Regions from separate parts of the Homo sapiens genome. Here region 2 is linked to region 1. The links are contacts of gene promoters, found by promoter capture Hi-C in human tissues and cell types (Jung and others, 2019). All regions are on one chromosome and are shown on one strand. The core of a region is centred on a gene start or on the middle of the fragment in contact, and the rest is flanking DNA. Distances in the headings are between cores, read along the strand shown.

What was found. The method cuts DNA at HindIII sites, captures the fragments that hold promoters and counts their contacts. A contact is called where the count stands out against the background at its distance.
Region 2: a fragment that was not itself captured here is called in contact with the fragment with the promoter of RCAN1 in region 1 in 1 of the 25 tissues and cell types used here (dorsolateral prefrontal cortex).

What each region holds. Positions count from the first base shown.
Region 1 is chr21:34,613,330-34,617,564 of GRCh38, reverse strand. It overlaps RCAN1 (regulator of calcineurin 1), which reads left to right and starts at 2,452. Exons shown (of 4, transcript NM_004414.7): 1 at 2,452-2,805. The coding sequence starts at 2,554. RefSeq lists silencers at 2,218-2,647, 2,838-2,937. The HindIII fragment of the contact is 10,572 bases long and covers 1-4,235 here.
Region 2 is chr21:34,113,289-34,117,523 of GRCh38, reverse strand. The region is part of intron 1 of MRPS6 (mitochondrial ribosomal protein S6); the gene reads right to left. Among named protein-coding and RNA genes, the nearest start is that of SLC5A3, 42 kb to the right of the region's middle. The HindIII fragment of the contact is 5,215 bases long and covers 1-4,235 here.

The DNA of each region.
Region 1 (4,235 bases), core at 1,203-3,702:
GATTTGCCTATTCTGAACATTTCATATAAATGGAATAACATGTGGCCTTTTGTGACTGCCTTCTTCCACTTAGCATAATGTTTTCAAGATTCCTCCATGTTGTGGCATGTTATCAGCATTTCATTCCTTTTTAGGGCTGGAAAATATTCCATTGTATGGATATACTCCTGGTTTGTCCATTCTTCAACTGGTGAACATTTGGGCTGTTTCCACTCTTTGGCTATTTTGAATAATGATGCTATGAGCTTTTGTGTACAGATTATTGTGTGGGCATATGTTTTCACTTCTTTCTTTCTTTTTTTTTTTTTTAGACTGAGTTTTTGCTTTTGTTGTCCAAGCTGGAGTGCAGTGGCGTGATCTCAGCTCACTGCAACCTCTGCCTCCGGGGTTCAAAAGATTCTCTTGCCTCAGCCTCCCGAGTAGCGGGGATTACAAGCATGTGCCACCACGCCCAGCTAATTTTGTATTTTTAGTAGAGACGGGGTTTCTCCATGTTGGTCAGGCTGGTCTGGAACTCCCAACCTCAGGTGATCTGCCCGCCTTGGCCTTCCAAATTGTTGGGATTACAGGCGTGAGCCATGGCTCCCGGCCGTTTTCATTTCTTTTAAGTATATACCTAGGAGAGGAATTGCTGGGTCATATGGTCACTCTACATAGAACTTTTTGAGGACTTGCCAAATTGTTTTCCAAAGTGGCTGCGCCATTTTACATGCCCATCAGCAATATATTGTGAACCCTGAAAATTTGAGACAGGTCTCAATTAATTTAGAAAGTTTATTTTGCCAAGGTTGAGGGCATGCCCATGACAGGCCTCAGGAAGTCCTGAGGACATGTACCCAAGGTGATCAAGGCACAGCTTGGTTTTATACATGTTAGGGAGACATGAGACATCAATGAATGTATGTAAGCAGTACATTGGTTTGGTCTGGAGAGGCAGGACAACTTGAAGCAAAGGCAGGAAGACTACTGCAAAGGCAGGAGGCAGGAGGGAGCTTCCAGGTCACAGATAGGTGATAGACAAACGGTTACACTCTTTGGGTTTCTGATTAGTCTTTATAAAGGAGGCAAATCTGTCTCGGTGAAATGCATCTGTCTCAGTGAGCAGAGGGGTGACTTTGAATGGAATGGGAGGCTGGTTGGCTCTAAGCAACTTCCAGCTTTAGTTTTCCTTAGTGATTTTGGGGGCCCAAGATTTCCCTTTCACAGTATGACGGTTCCAATTTCTTCACATCCTCATATCATATTCTATTTTATGAGTTATCTCTAGATGGGTATTATTATTCCTCTTGGGTTTAGCTCCCTGAGGACACAAACTGTCCTAAGACTATGATAATAGTAATCATAGAACCGTGCACATGGCAAGTTCTGAATAAATCTCAGCTGTTGGATATACTTTTTGTTATAATTACTAACACTTCCTAACTAGAGAGTAAGCCTACTCTAAGAAAAAATATAACTGTAATTTCACAACCTCCAAAGAACCCAGTGCATAAACAGCTACCATTTATTAAGCACTGACTGAATTCTTAGTAATATGTCTTCATTTTTTTCAGATGAGGAAACTAAGATTCAGCTTATTTGTACAAGTAGTTAAAAAGCAAAGCTGAAATTCAGACCCAAGTTCTCACTGTATCATACTGTCCAAAAAAGAATTCTATTTTTCAGGAAGAGACATGTCTGCTCACTTGAGGTCCTCTTATTTTTCCGCTATTCCCCAAAGGAAAGGGGTGATCTCTTAATTCTTTCGTTATGTCCTATTGTACATAGCATATAATGGTAATTCAGAAAAATTACTTCTAATTACATAAATTTTCACAATGGTATAGTGACTAATACGCTGAAATAGAAAAGTAAGGCATTGTTATCATGGTCTAGTTCAGTCTTTATTGCGACTATATCTGATAATATACGGTAAGCATCTAACCACTTGCCAGGGGCCACAGAGCCACAGGGAGACTATGTCTCGCTTAAATTCCCAAAAGTGGGCCCCTGTGCTTCAAAACGTCCCCGCATGGGAACCACAAAAACGTTGCCTCCCCAGTTATCACCCCAAGGGCCCAAGAGCCGAGGACTCTGCCCGGCGTCCTTCAGCTGGCACCAGCTGTCAGAAAAGCGGAACTGGGGACGAGGACTTTGCCCCTAACCAACATGGCCGCCCTGAGGCTTCGGGCTTCGGGCGGCAGAAGGAAGGTCACGTGAAGAGAATTCCGTTCCTTTATTGGCCCCGTCTCCTGGAAGGGCGGGGTACAATAACCCAACCGGCGCCGGCCTTAAAGGGGCCACCGTTGGATCTGCCGGTGGCCGGCCCTAGGGGCTGGGGGGGCGGTCGCCGCGCCGGGCTTCTGCCCCTCCCGCGCGGAACGGTGACGGGCGGGGCTGGCGCTGGGAGGCCGTGTCGCTGGGAGACTGCTGACAGCCCGCCGCCTGCCGCCGCGCGATTCCGAGGGGGTTAACGGCGGAGCCGCCGGCCGGGCGCGGACCGGAGCGCGTGAGGCTCCGGCGCGCAAGCCCGGAGCAGCCCGCTGGGGCGCACAGGGTCGCGCGGGCGCGGGGATGGAGGACGGCGTGGCCGGTCCCCAGCTCGGGGCCGCGGCGGAGGCGGCGGAGGCGGCCGAGGCGCGAGCGCGGCCCGGGGTGACGCTGCGGCCCTTCGCGCCCCTCTCGGGGGCGGCCGAGGCGGACGAGGGCGGCGGCGACTGGAGCTTCATTGACTGCGAGATGGAGGAGGTGGACCTGCAGGACCTGCCCAGCGCCACCATCGCCTGTCACCTGGACCCGCGCGTGTTCGTGGACGGCCTGTGCCGGGTGAGGACCGCGCCGGGCGGGCCGTCGGGGCGGAGGGCGGACACTTGTTGCCCGAGGAGGCGGCGCGGGTCGCAGCGCCCAGTCCCGGCCGCGCGCGGGGCGGGGAGGCAGCGACGTCCCCCGGGCTGCTCGGCCGCGGACCCGTCAGGGCTGGGGCGTGGGGACGGCGCCCCGAGGGTCCCGGTCCCCTAGCACCCCCGGGGCGCGCGGAGCTCACTGCAGAGTCCCACAGGCTCGCCCCGGCCCCCGTGTGCGCCCAGGCTGGTGCGACTAGGGGGGTGAATTCGCTCCCCAAGGTGGGGCAGCGCCGCCGCCCCCTGCGCTCTCGCCATCGCCCCGCATTTACTCGCTGGAGGAGGGGGTCACCTCATTCCTAGGGAGGAGGAAACAGACATTGAGCGGCGACGTGACTCAGTGTTCATAAATAGGACGACGTCCCTGCATTCCCAATCTGCACTATTGGAAGAAAAGCCAATGTTTGGGTGAGGATCCGTGGTTGCTCATTAGCCAGCGGCTGGCCAGTTTTGGTGGAATTGTGTTGGGGGGAAGGGGACCATCTTTCAGACCTTTAGGATATTTAGTCAAGAACCTTGCCCCCTTGTGTGAAGGTGTGGCTTGCCGCCATCGGGGACACCCAGTACATGGGGAGTCGACTCCTTCCCCCGCCTCCCCCCACCCCCGCAAAATCCACACAATTTAGACACTTTGGAGGGTGAGGGGCAGGTATGAGTAATCAATAATGGTGGTGGGGAGGAAGAATTTATTTCAAATCTGCAGTTATTGTGCAGAATAAAATGTGGACAACGTGGGCGTCACAGAATGAAACCGGTCTTTGAGAGATGCCCCATTAGGAGAGCAGCTGTCAAAAAAAGCAGTGCTTTCAGCGCTTGGCTGTGGGTCCACAAATGCTGTCAATGAACTATAGTTGAAGGCTGCTGCCAATACAACACCACTGTGAAACAGAATGGTGTATGTAAGTGTCATTTATTTATAATTTATATGTTCACTTACTTTCTGAAAGGAATTACAATGGCCGTGTGCTTAGGTAAGCTTCCAGGCATGCTTTCTAGAGCAGCAATTGTCAGGAACTCAGGGTCTTACTGATTGATCTTACTCTAAAACCTTTTCCTCTCCATATAAACTAAGCGCTAGCCAGCATTTCAGACCTTTTCCTTAGGAGTTCTAGGCTGTCTTTCTGCTAGAACAAGGTCAAGTCACGTAAGACGGCACTTACTTGTAGTGTTGGAGACAATTTTTTCCAGTGTTGGATACAATCCTGAAATTGTGTTGTATGAAAGTTTGCCCACTTCGCTAGCTATTCATTTTAACAAATATTTATTGAGACTTCGCTACGGGATAGGTACTGTCCTAGGCTCTGAGGCTGCATCAGTAAATAAAATAGCATTTCTGCCTCCAGGGTTGACATTTTT
Region 2 (4,235 bases), core at 1,207-3,706, 500 kb after region 1:
GATACAGATAGGAAGACAGACACTTGTAAGTTACTAATAAAGGCAGATTCAAACACAGGCAATACTGATGTGAAAAGCAATGATGCCACAAGAACTCAAAAGAAGGAATTACTACTACTAACTGGTTGGTTGAAGAAAGCAGATTTCAGCCAGACCCTGAAAAATGAATACCCCGTCAGGAGGGAAAGAGGGCCACTTTGGGTGCTCTCAGAGTGGGTCTGAACTAACAGCAGACGAAAGGAAGGGAGAAAATTCTTATGAAATTTATATTTGGGGTAGAATCAACATGGGTACTGAATTTAGTATAGGTAGAAGCCTTTGTTTTCTTCCACCTATGGCACTATTTTGCCTAGAACATTAAGATTTCAGTTTCTTCAAACACTCACCTACACTATTGGTAAAAATGTAAACTTTCTGGAAGACAATTTGGCAATGTATATTAATTTAAAATGTGTACACCTTTAACTCCACAGCTACTTCTAGTGTGGGGAATCAGTCAGAGTGGTGGGAAAAACTACAGGGAAAGGACCTAAACCTTCTGAAAGGTCGGAAGGTTCTGCAGAGCCCCAGGGGAGAAGAGCTGAAGGCAGCTGTTCTATAACCCTGAGGCAGAGGCCAAGGAGTAGGTACAAGGGAGTGTAGGGGAATTTATCTTAAAGAGGCTTGTTTACTTATGCTGACCAGGAACTGATCTTTGATCATCCTCTCGCATGAGGTTCTCTGAAAGGGGGGCAATAAATGTTAATTACCTACAGGTTGTGTTTGCTCCATGTTTTCAGCATTGTGCCGGCACTGAATAAAACCAAGCAGCTCCAGCTTCTTGGGGCTGCTCTGGCCACTAGAGCCAGGCAGTCAACTAGCTGCTCTTACACTGCATACCTGTGTCTGAGTACTCATTTCATCCGTAGCCAGGGTCTGCAGGACACACCCAGCATTCTAGGAATTTAAGCAAACTACCATACCCATGTACCAGACTTAGCTATGAAAAATGCTCATCATAAAGTTATTAGGATAGTGAATGAATGGAAATCTTATTGCCCAATGGAGACTGGTTCAATAAACGATTTCCACTGATTGAATAAGTACGATACAACCATTTAAAAATCCACCAAGATTTCAGAAATCACCACTAAAGAACTTATTAATGTAACCAAACACCACCTGTTCCCAAAAACACCTATAGAAATTAAAAAAAAAAAAAAAAACATGGATGATTGAGAGGCTGAAGCAGGCAGATCGCTTGAGCCCAGGAGTTCGAGACCAGCCTGAGCAACATGGTTAAATCCCATCTCTACAAAACACACATACACACACACACACACACACACACACACACACACACACAAAATTAGCTGGGCATGGTGGGACACACCTGTAGACCCAGCTACTCAGGAAGCTAAGATAGGAGGATTGCTTGAGGCTAGGGAAGATGAGGCTGCAGTGAGCCATGACTGTGGCACCACACTCCATCCTGGGTAACAGAGTGAAACCCTGTCGGGGTTGGGATGGGGTATGATCCTTACATACTGGCATAAAAACATTTTAATAATAAAATAAAATCAGCATGGAGAGTACATCCATGTATCTTCCAAAAAAAAAAAAAGGACTATGTAGACAAACATGGAAAAAAGAACGGATGACTATGCAAGGTATTAGTCTTCCCTAGGTAGCAAAACAAGTGGAGTATTCCATTTTTTTTTCTTTTACACTCTGATTTACGATGAGCAATTAAAACGTGTTTCAGTGACAAACTTCTTTTGCAACAAATTCAATTTTTCCTTTAAAGAATTTCTTCTCCCAAGTCTATCCCAACCGCTATCTTGCCACAGATACCATAATTTGTAAATTCTGTCTTCAAGTCCCAGATCTACACTTGGACACTGAAAACTCATTCACTGACTCCGTGTCCATCCAGGCTTTTAACAATATAGTAATAATCAGAGAGGTATAAACAGGTGGCTTCCAGAGGTTACTGAAAGAGTCTTGCAAGCTGGTACTTCCAGCATCATTAATTATTACAACTGGTTACTCTGTCTCTTGGGGAATGAGAGGAAAAACTGGAATCCAGAAGTACTGGTCCCAGAATCAGAGTGCACCAAAAAGACGTGATAGGACAAGACCAAGTCTGGCCCTGACACCACAGTGGTCAATGAAGCCAAGGGATGTGGAAACAGGAGCCTGCCCATTCTATGGCCATGCAGCCAGGAATAAGACTCTTGAGACCTGGGAAATCCAACATTAAGAAGTACTCTTTGGGCAATGTGATGAAAACAAAAAGAACTCAGAGAAGAATGGAGGTTAAAAAGAAAACAGGAGCAAGAAGCCAATGACTGGTCCAGTAACTGATCTGAGTTCAGCACACATTAATCCTGGGCCAAAACGAAGGACCCAAGAACAAGGCAGAGGCATTGTTATCTTCTCAGTGAGATAATGCATGGCTGAATTTGCAAACGTAAAAAGCAGATGACTGAGGAGTAAAGCAACTTGAGCTGCAAGGTAGGCAAAATGCCTTTAAGTCATAAACTACACTTACCCATCCAAGGGGCCCCTGCACCAAGTGCCTGCTAAGCCATCAATACCAGCATTGGAATCAAAAGGCTATGAGCGAATAAATTTAAAAAATGAACCCACTGAGCAGAAGGGAAGACATAATTATAGGAGATCCAACCTTGTGTGAACTTACTAGTTGTCAGCTATATATTAGTTAGTCATGTGCCTTGGTTAACATTAATCTCTAGTTCAATAATAATGTACCTTTGTTCCTTAATCAACTAATTTCTGAGGTTTCAAATCAAAGAATATCATTCAGATGTCATTCATTTAAGGACAAATTTGGGGGCTCACTTGCATATAATCAATCATTCCTTTCATGATTTGGGTAAGTCAAAGGAAAAGGGCAGAAATCACCAAGGTATTTCTCAGCACTTGAATCACCTGGGAGCTTTAAAAATAAAGGTGTCTGCATCTTACCCTCAGATATTTCAATTCAATTGGCTTAAGGATTCAAAAATCCTGGACACTAAGATTTTTTTAAAGCTCCCCAGGTGCAAACAAATGTGAGAACCGCACTCTAGTAGGAAGCTAGCTGGCTTCTCATCCTCCCAAAGATGAATGACTCTGGCTGAATTGCAGTTTGTAAAAGATTTTAAGCAATGATCTTCTCCAACACTAATTTAAGGAACATAAAAGTTTCACTCTTTCTCACCAATAATATTGGAGTCTTGTCTGAATGTGAAATGGAAAAATGACAACCCCAGTGGGTGACTATTTGTGGTAAATACTACTGCATCAGCTAGAAACAATGCCAAAATGAAGGTACCCTACTTGCTATTCTAAGGACATTTTAAAGTCCATGATCCTCTTGCTGAGAGGTTTCCATTTCTATACTCCCCATCCCCCTTCAGATGCACTCACAGATAAAAGATAAACGGGAAGACTGGCAGGAGTCCTGGTTACTATGACAGCAAGTAAAGGAAATGCCTAAGCTTGTGAAATGGATAGTGGGAGCAGGAATCAGGTAGGCATTACTGAGCCACCTGCCTTATTGATTGCATGCCTTCATGCACAATTCAGTTCCCTGCCTTCGCCTTATATTTCAACCTCTTCACAGGGTAGAAGGGAGACAGCACTGGAGTGACAAGAAAACCAGGGGAGGGAACAGTCAACCAAAGATTTAGATGGTAGAGACAAAAGGTTTATAAGAAAATGAATCTTCTACATATCCATGTAAGGTTTAGCAAAAATATCACCTGGTGGACTGGGTTAAGAGAAGTTCTTAAAATCATACATTCCTAGAATGACAAACATGGACTTTGACAAAAAAGTCAGATTTGCATAATTTGCTCAACAACAGACAAAAAGCATGTCCATCAACTAGGCCAACTGCAGTGATGCTTAAATTCAAGTGGTGGGAGGAAGGCACCTGATGGACTGCTCTATTCTGTAGAGCAGGGAAGAGAAAGGACACAAACACAAAGGAATTATAGGAATAAAAACATGCATCAAGATTCAGCTACTTTTTCAGATGCCACATATGAGGGAAATCATATGTTGTCTTTCTGTGTCTGGCTTATTTCACTTCACATAATGTCCTCTAGGCTCATCCATGTTGTTGCACAGGATTTCCTTTTTTATGGCTGAAGAGTATTCTATTGTGTATGTATGCCATACTTTATCCATTCATCCACTGATGGACACTTAGGTTGATCCACATCTCAGCTATTGTGAATAGTGTT